Linked DNA regions of Homo sapiens: regions 1 and 3 are each linked to region 2. The links are contacts of gene promoters, found by promoter capture Hi-C in human tissues and cell types (Jung and others, 2019). All regions are on one chromosome and are shown on one strand. The core of a region is centred on a gene start or on the middle of the fragment in contact, and the rest is flanking DNA. Distances in the headings are between cores, read along the strand shown.

The links. The method cuts DNA at HindIII sites, captures the fragments that hold promoters and counts their contacts. A contact is called where the count stands out against the background at its distance.
Region 1: a contact is called between a fragment that was not itself captured here and the fragment with the promoter of IL10RB in region 2, in 1 of the 25 tissues and cell types used here (spleen).
Region 3: a contact is called between a fragment that was not itself captured here and the fragment with the promoter of IL10RB in region 2, in 1 of the 25 tissues and cell types used here (dorsolateral prefrontal cortex).

Annotation. Positions count from the first base shown.
Region 1 is chr21:33,425,818-33,428,517 of GRCh38, forward strand. It overlaps IFNGR2 (interferon gamma receptor 2), which reads left to right. Exons shown (of 7, transcript NM_005534.4): 4 at 1,067-1,215. Among named protein-coding and RNA genes, the nearest start is that of IFNGR2, 24 kb to the left of the region's middle. The HindIII fragment of the contact is 6,726 bases long and covers 1-2,700 here.
Region 2 is chr21:33,264,961-33,267,660 of GRCh38, forward strand. It overlaps IL10RB (interleukin 10 receptor subunit beta), which reads left to right and starts at 1,407. Exons shown (of 7, transcript NM_000628.5): 1 at 1,407-1,554. The coding sequence starts at 1,506. All of the region lies in intron 7 of IFNAR2-IL10RB (IFNAR2-IL10RB readthrough), which reads left to right. IFNAR2 (interferon alpha and beta receptor subunit 2) reads left to right here. Exons shown (of 9, transcript NM_001289125.3): 9 at 1-704. IL10RB-DT (IL10RB divergent transcript) reads right to left here and starts at 1,300. Exons shown (of 2, transcript NR_038974.1): 1 at 1,103-1,300; 2 at 672-942. RefSeq lists enhancers at 923-982, 1,013-1,082 and a silencer at 1,253-1,662. The HindIII fragment of the contact is 10,877 bases long and covers 1-2,700 here.
Region 3 is chr21:33,460,414-33,463,113 of GRCh38, forward strand. TMEM50B (transmembrane protein 50B) reads right to left here. Exons shown (of 7, transcript NM_006134.7): 5 at 1-92. Among named protein-coding and RNA genes, the nearest start is that of TMEM50B, 18 kb to the right of the region's middle. The HindIII fragment of the contact is 4,870 bases long and covers 1-2,700 here.

The sequences.
Region 1 (2,700 bases), core at 9-2,508, 160 kb after region 2:
CTAACCCTCACCAACCTGGAGTGCCCAGGGGAGAGAATCCAGCCCTGCTGTTGTGAACACACAGTGACAGGATTGTCTCCTTGTGTAAAATGTGCAGACATTGGTCTCTTAGAACTTCGAGGACCCAAACTGTACTTTGATCTGAGTTTCTCTGGTGAATTATACAATGTGCATGCTTACTTAATAAATGCTTGATAACCCCTCATTGATAGCACATCATGAGTCACAGTCCTAGCCTGACCTGTGAATTATATGAAAAGCCTGAACAAATAGACTTACATGGCAACACTTCTCAGTTATTGTGTTTAAATATAGTATGGGCATGGTGCTCACGCCTGTAATCCCAGCACTTTGGGAGGCCAAGGCAGGCGGATCACCTGAGGTCAGGAGTTTGAAACCAGCCTGGCCAACATAGTGAAACCCTGTCTCTACTAAAAATACAAAAATTAGCCGGGTATGGTGGCGTGTGCCTGTAATCCCAGCTACATGAGAGGCTGAGGCAGGAGAATCGCTTGAACCTGGAAGGCGGAGGTTGCAGTGAGTTGAGATTGCACCACTGCACTCCAGCCTGGGTGATATGTGCGAGATTCCATCTCAAAAATGAATAAATAAATAAATAGGCCAGGCGCGGTGGCTCACACCTGTAATCTCAGCACTTTGGGAGGCTGAGGTGGGCGGATCACGAGGTCAGGAGTTCGAGAACAGCCTGGCCAACATGATGATACCCTGTTTCTTCTAAAAATATAAAAATTAGCCAGGCATGGTGGCACACGCCTGTTGTAATCCCAGCTACTTGAGAGGCTGATGCAAGAGAATTGCTTGAGCCCGGGAGGTGGAGGTTGCAGTGAGCCGAGATCGCACAACTGCACTCTAGCCTGGGCGACAGAGCAAAACTGTCTCGAAAAAATAATAATAAATAAAGAGATAGATAAAAACGTGTGTGTATATATCTACACCCACTATATATATATATATACATATATATATAGCATTATATAATACATTGTATTATATCTATAATACATATGTGTATGTGTGTGGTTTTCTCTTTGTAATTCTTTTTCAGTGACTGTCGGGCCTCCAGAAAACATTGAGGTGACCCCAGGAGAAGGCTCCCTCATCATCAGGTTCTCCTCTCCCTTTGACATCGCTGATACCTCCACGGCCTTTTTTTGTTATTATGTCCATTACTGGGAAAAAGGAGGAATCCAACAGGCAAGAGCATCTTTCTTTTTTGTTTGGATTTTCTTTTCTTTGCAGTTTCTGGCTTAGCAAAAGAAAGAAACCTTTAACATGGGCAAGAACAGGGTGTCTCCATGTCCCCGTGTCCCCATAGAGGCTGAGCCCTGAGCCTGTTTTCATTGTCCTCTTCAAGACCTGTTTTTCCACTCGGTTTGCTGAGACCTCCCTCCGCCAGGCTGATCTGAAGGGCCAGCCATCCTTTGATGTCACTCTGTGTCCCTTGTGTGGGGTTGAGACTTTGCCGGTGCCCTGCTTACGATGCCTTTGCCACGCTCTGTAGTTTGGAGGAGGTTTTAGTGGGCCTGGTTCTCCATGAGGAATCCACAACTACAGCCTGCAAGGCTTAACTGTATAAATGTTTGAACAGTTTGTGAAAAGGGCACATGCGAAATCGGGGGGAAACAGAGGGAGAAAGAGCTTTCCAGAGAGCAGTACCAGCAGGTATGAGAAGGCGTGGCATACGTGGAGAACTGCAGGTGCTTAGATTGGTCAGAAATGCAATCCACAAGGGGCTGTGGCAGGTGCTCACGTTGACAGAGGTGCATGACATCAGAGCGGCCTGGTCAGCCTCGGGGAGTATAGGAAAAAGCATCATGGTCTTGAAGCATCTCCAGTGCCTAAATTATCCTAGCTGCATTTAAGGAGGTTCTGTTATCTATGGGAACTTCATGATTTCCTAAATTCAACATTATGATGGTTTTTGATAATAAGAGCTTACATTTATTGAGAGCTTCCTTTGTGTTTGGCTCTGGGCCAGAATTTTAGATACTTCATCTCATTTCATCTTTTTTTTTTTTTTTTTTTTGAGCTGGAGTTTCGCTCTTGATGCCCAGCTAGTTTTTGTATTTTTAGTAGAGACAGGGTTTTTACCACGTTGGTCAGGCTGGTCTCAGACTCCTGACCTCAGGTGATCTGCCCACCTTGGCCACCCAAAGTGCTGGGATTACAGGCATGAGCCACCGTGCCCGGCCCATTTCATCTTTATACTAATCCGTTTGCAGAGAGAGAATCCAAGTCGTTAAGTGGCTTGCCTCAGGTCAGCAGCGAATCACTGGCAGAGCAGAGCAGAGCAGAGATGCCTAGCTTCAGAGCCCTGCTCTTGACCACCATCTTTTTCTGCCACACGCTTTGTATCTGCACTTCTCCTTCATTTTTTTTTTTTTTTTAATTATTGTTCTTTTTTTGAGACAGTCTCACTGTCGCCCAGGCTAGAGTACTGTGGTACCATCTTGGCTCACTGCAACCTCTACCTCCCCGGCTCAAGCAGTCCACCCACTTCAGCCACCCGAGTAGCTGGAACTACAGGCCTGTGCCAACCACACCTGGCTAATATTTTTAAATTTTTTTTTATAGAGATGGGGTTTTGCCATGTTGCCCAGGCTGGTCTCGAACTCCTGGTCTCAAGCGATCTGCCCACCTCAGTCTCCAAAAGTGCTGAGGTTACAGGCATGAGCCCGT
Region 2 (2,700 bases), core at 157-2,656:
AGCCTGGGTGACAGAACCAGACCCTGTCTTTAAAAAGGGAGTTGGTGGGGAGAGGTTCTAGAATGTCATGTAGCAACCAGTTTAAGGACTGGGACTCAGGGATCCAACTCCCACAGTTTCCCTGTGTGACCCTAGGCATTTGACTTAGCCTTTCTGAGCCTCAGGTTTTTTGTTTCTGAAGTAAAAGGATTGGACTAGGTAATCTCCAAGATCCTAGGAACCCAGGAGAAAGATGAGAAAATGTACAAGAATGAACACTCAGGTGGAAATGCTGCAATCCTGAGAAGCTCCCAGGATGAATGAAAGGCACAGGACCTCTTACCCCTCACCCCTGCCCCCCTCAAGAGCTGGTTTCTCAAACCTTTCTCTTAGGCCCCTTCAAAGGGGGAAAACTAAAAATTATACAAGTTATAGTTCAAGGACTTTAAATAGATTATTTATATGATTGCTCATAAGGATGAGGCTGTGAGGAGGGAACACCTTATTTAATCTAATGAAATTCCATAGGAAAGAGGCCTTTTGTATATTGAATCAATTTATCTGCCTTCTCAGTGCATCTGTCATATTCTGAAAGATTCTGGGTTGATCTTTTGCGATAACCTCTATGGCTGTGAGTGTGTGTGTGTGTTTGTGTATTTTTTAACATTTTGTATAATGATTGGAGGTTGGTAAAAAGTAACACAACAGTACTTTTTTAATACAAACTTGGTGTGGTCTTGAGTTGTCTTCCATTGGAGAGCGTACGTGTGCCACAGATTGGTGCACCTGCCGGCATCTCTAGGATTGCACCAACTCCCTCTAGCTCTTCTTGGTGGCCTGCAGGGGCCTAGGGCGCATTCACTTCCCTCTGCTTGACTTTACGTGGTGTTCTAGCGTCAGACATCAGGCGATGCCGTGCATTACCCAAGACACTGGACAGCTCCGGATCTTCCCGTCTAACCACTAATCAAGTTAAAAAGAGGAAATTAACGCTTTCTTAGTAGTCTCTGAAAGAAACTAGTTATTTGCGTAAAGATGACTTGGTTTTGTGTTGTTTATCCCTGGGGAGAAGGGTAAAGAAGACCCTCAAACTGGATTTGCTGCTGAAGTGCTTTTAACTCACCTGTGCGGAGAGCGGACTTCAAGAGAGGGCGTGCCGGTGCTCCGGACAAAACCTGGGGAATACTGAAAGCCACCACCACCACCGTCATTCCAGCATGCAGATCTCAGTCCTGGGTTGGTGTTGTAGGGCATTTATTTATTTGACTTGACGGCGCCTTTCAAAGCTTGCGAGGATCCCTTCCTCTTCCTCGTGTGCATCTGCCAAGCCTGTGCCCCGCGCCTCGCGGGTGGACCCGGGCTGGTGGGCGGGGCCTGCAGCGGGGTGGGAGCCCGGTCGCCCGGCCCCTCCCCACCCCGCCCCGCCCATCTCCGCTGGTTCCCGGAAGCCGCCGCGGACAAGCTCTCCCGGGCGCGGGCGGGGGTCGTGTGCTTGGAGGAAGCCGCGGAACCCCCAGCGTCCGTCCATGGCGTGGAGCCTTGGGAGCTGGCTGGGTGGCTGCCTGCTGGTGTCAGGTGAGGGGTCCGCGGGGAGGGGGCGCGCTTGGGAACCGGGAGGCCCCGCGAGATGCCGCCCCTGATCCCATCCCTGGGCGCCCTGCAAGTGACTTAAGAGCCTTCGGGGCCTCGGGAGAGAAGATGCAAACGCCACGGCCGGCTGCTGAGACGCAACTAGGCTGCTGCTGCCGTCGATTCTGTAACAGGAGAAAGCCCCATCCGCGCCCGGATTACAGACCGTCTGGGCCCTAAACTCAGGGGGAGACTCCCGGCGTCTTTTGATTCCCTGTCCTCCTGCAGCTCTCTGCTGGCGGGCGTCTAAATAAAGTAGCTTCCCCAAAAGACCCAAGATCCCACCGTGGCTGTCATCTGACCCTTCTGGAGACTATCAGTTCAAGTGGAGGCCCCCACCAGTCCCCGAGTGCCCTGACAGCCCTCCCTGACCCCAAGTCTGCCCCCTCAGTGCCAGCCCTCCCTACAGATGTGCCTCCCATCACCCGCTGCACCTCCCCTCCTTCCGGTTCAGGCCCGAGCACCCTGAAATCTGGATTCTGTCCCCCAGCGCCCCAGCTCCATGGCTTCTAAACCTAAATCCATTGAAACCTTTTCTGTCCTCTAAATTGACTGCCTAGGTTCCAATAACACCATGGTCACCTCCTTCCTTTCTCATGAACTCTTCCCTGGCCTTCCGGGATACCCCTCCGGTTTCCCGCCCTGTCAGGCTGTCTCTGCTTGGGACCCTCCTGCTCTGTCAGGTTTCTATGTAGCTAATTGTGATGCCCAAGGCCTTTTCTCTCCTTCCCTGGCACTGTTCCTTTGGGGGATTTCAGCCAAACCCTGGCATTAAACACGGGCTATAGGCCCATGACTCGCACATTTATATCTCTCTTGGTACCAGTTGGGTGATGGGTGGTGGTTTATTATAGTCTTCTACTTTTCTACTTGCATGTAGGTTTCAAATTTTCTTTTCTTTCTTTCTTCTTCCGTTTTTTTTTTTGTTTGTTTGTTTTTTTGTTTTTTTGTTTTTTTTTGAGACAGGGTTTTGCTCTGTTGCTGTGGCCCAGGCTGGAGTGCAGTGGCTTGATCTTGCCTCACTGCCACCTCCGCCTCCCGGGTTCAAGCGATTTTCCTCCCTCAGCCTCCCGAGTAGCTGGAATTACAGGT
Region 3 (2,700 bases), core at 199-2,698, 200 kb after region 2:
TTGGGTAACATATGCACCAAAAAGAATCCACATGGAAGCAATAAGTGACCCAAACATCAACATGAAACCAATGAAAAGCCAAACTCGAGCACCTGTGTAGAGAAGAGGCTTTATGATTTTGTTCATTTTTGCAGCTCTGTAACGTCTTAGGAATACATAATACTAGGAGCCCTGTTAGCCTAGTATATATTATGCATATCAAAGATAGTCATATATTTATATAAATCTGCTGTAAGTTAAATGAATGATGATTTAAAAAAAAAACACTAAAAGAAGTTAAACCATACATGGAAAAGGAAAAAAAGAAAGTTACCTTTTTACTGACTAGAGAAACGAATGCCCTAATTAAAAAATTACACTGTTGTATATATTACCAAAATAATTGCTCTATTAAAAGTAGCACATGTATTCTGGATAGCCATCACCACATAGGAATGAGAGACTTCAAATGAAGAAGGACTAATATGTCCCTTTTTAATCAATGGTAAGCTTCTATAATCACACCATTATTCAATATGGTACAAATAACGGCCATTCTTTAGGAGTATATTCAGGCTTTTTTATTGCTGAGGCAGCCAATCTGTACCACATATTCATGAAAACTTCAAGATCAGAAGTATCTCTTCAACCCTGTATTGAACAAAATTCTAGATCTCGATAATGTAAATCATCTGGACACTTGAGTAGATTCAACATATTTTTAGGAAAGCAGGTTAATACTTGCACCAGATCCTGTTCACAGGTATACTGACAGCCCCATCAACCTCTGGAAGGGGAAGAAAGCTCCACTGAAGTAAAAATAAAATCCTAGCCAATTTCCATAACAGAAAACTAAATTTGCCTCAGTTGCAAATATTTTGTTACCAGGGAAAAGATTCATTTTAGACACCAGATAAGGAAGAAGCACTGATCAAAGTTCATAATGGTTAGAACAGCTGATATCTGAGAGAAATAGGTCTCTATATTATCTAAATTTTATTACAATACTAAGCAGATCTCCAGAAATAAACAGTAATGTTTAGTTCTTTGGAGAAATACAATCTCTAAATTATATTCAATCATAGCTTTTATCTAACGTGAATAAAAGGAACTATTAAAAATCCTTAAAGGCGGGGCATGGTAGCTCACACCTGTAATCCTAGAAATTTGGGAGGCCAAGGTGGGCTAATTGCCTGAGCTCAGGAGTTCGAGACCAGCCTGGGCAACATGGTAAAACCCTATCTCTACTAAAAGAAAAAAAAATCAGTCGGGCTTGGTGGCGGGTGCCTGTAGTCCCAGCTATTCAAGAGGCTGAGGCAAGAGAATTGCTTGAACCTGAGAGGCAGAGGTTGCAGTGAGCCAAGATCATGCCACTACACTCTAGCCTGCGCAACAAAGCAAAACTGTTTCAAAAAAAAAAAAATCCTTACAATTATTTTCCATCATGTCCTTTATTTATGGCTATATACATTAAACTTTCTAATAGAATTAAACAAGAAAAAAATTTCTCTTGTAAAGTAAGTATGTCTGAGGGCATATTAACAAAAAGAGAAAAAAAAGAAAAAGAAGTATGCTTTTGTTTAGCAAAAAAATAAAACTGTAACATTTTCTCTTGTTTGCTTTGGCTACAAGGAAGCTCTGAGTTAAGGTTAATGAACAATTAAAAGCATCCATCTTGTCCCAGGTTCTAAGTACAATGATCATTTTTCTACCTAGTTCCTGTTCTTTTTTATAGTTTTATTATTTAGCTGTTTCATTTATAGTATATTTATTATTTTGATACTTTCCTATTAATTCCTCCGGGAACTAAATAGAGATAGTTTACAGATAAACCACTTAAGCAGTACAAAAGCTTAAGAGTAGCAATACCTGGGCATGACTATAAGACAGTTTGTCCTTAATTTTTGAAACACTAAACAGAAATTGCACTATATGCACAATATAAAAATATAAACTGTACTGTTAATTTTAATAGAATAGGGAATATCATAGAATAAAATATAATAATCACTTAGGGTAAAAACGACGGGCTTGGGAACCAGACAGACCAAAGACAAATACAGGTTCCACTTTTAAGCTAAAAAACTTTGGATAAGTTACAGTGAAACTTCCTATAAAAAACAGATAATAGTGGCCAGGCACAGTGGCTTACACCGGTAATCCCAGCTACTCTGGAGGCTGAGAGGGGAGGATTGCTTGAGCCCAGGAGTTCAAGGCTTTTCTGCGTCATGATCATGCCACTGCACTCTAGCCTGGGAGACAGAGCAAGACCTCGTCTCAAAAAAAGATAATAGTAACATAATTCACAGCAATGTCCGTGGAATATTCTTGAAAGAAAAATGATGGAGTACATTATTGTATGCTCTACATACAACATCTTCACTTGCTAATATATATTTTTTCTTTACCTTCCCTCATTCCTGACATTACTGCTGAGGCTGACATACAGGATATGATGAAAAGTAAGCGCGATCGCATGCGCATACACACACATATTGTGCACTTTAAACTTAGGCTCATCTGTCATTTGTCATTATACCCTCTCGCAAATTCTCCATGGATTCCAGTAGAAGTGAGGTTACAAAATCTACATCAGCATTTAAAGCATCAGGTAGAAGGCTGGGCATGGTGGTTCATGCCTGTAATCCCAGCACTTTGGGAGGCCAAGGCGGGTGCATCACCTGAGGTCAGGAGTTTGAGAACAGCCTGGCCAACATGGTG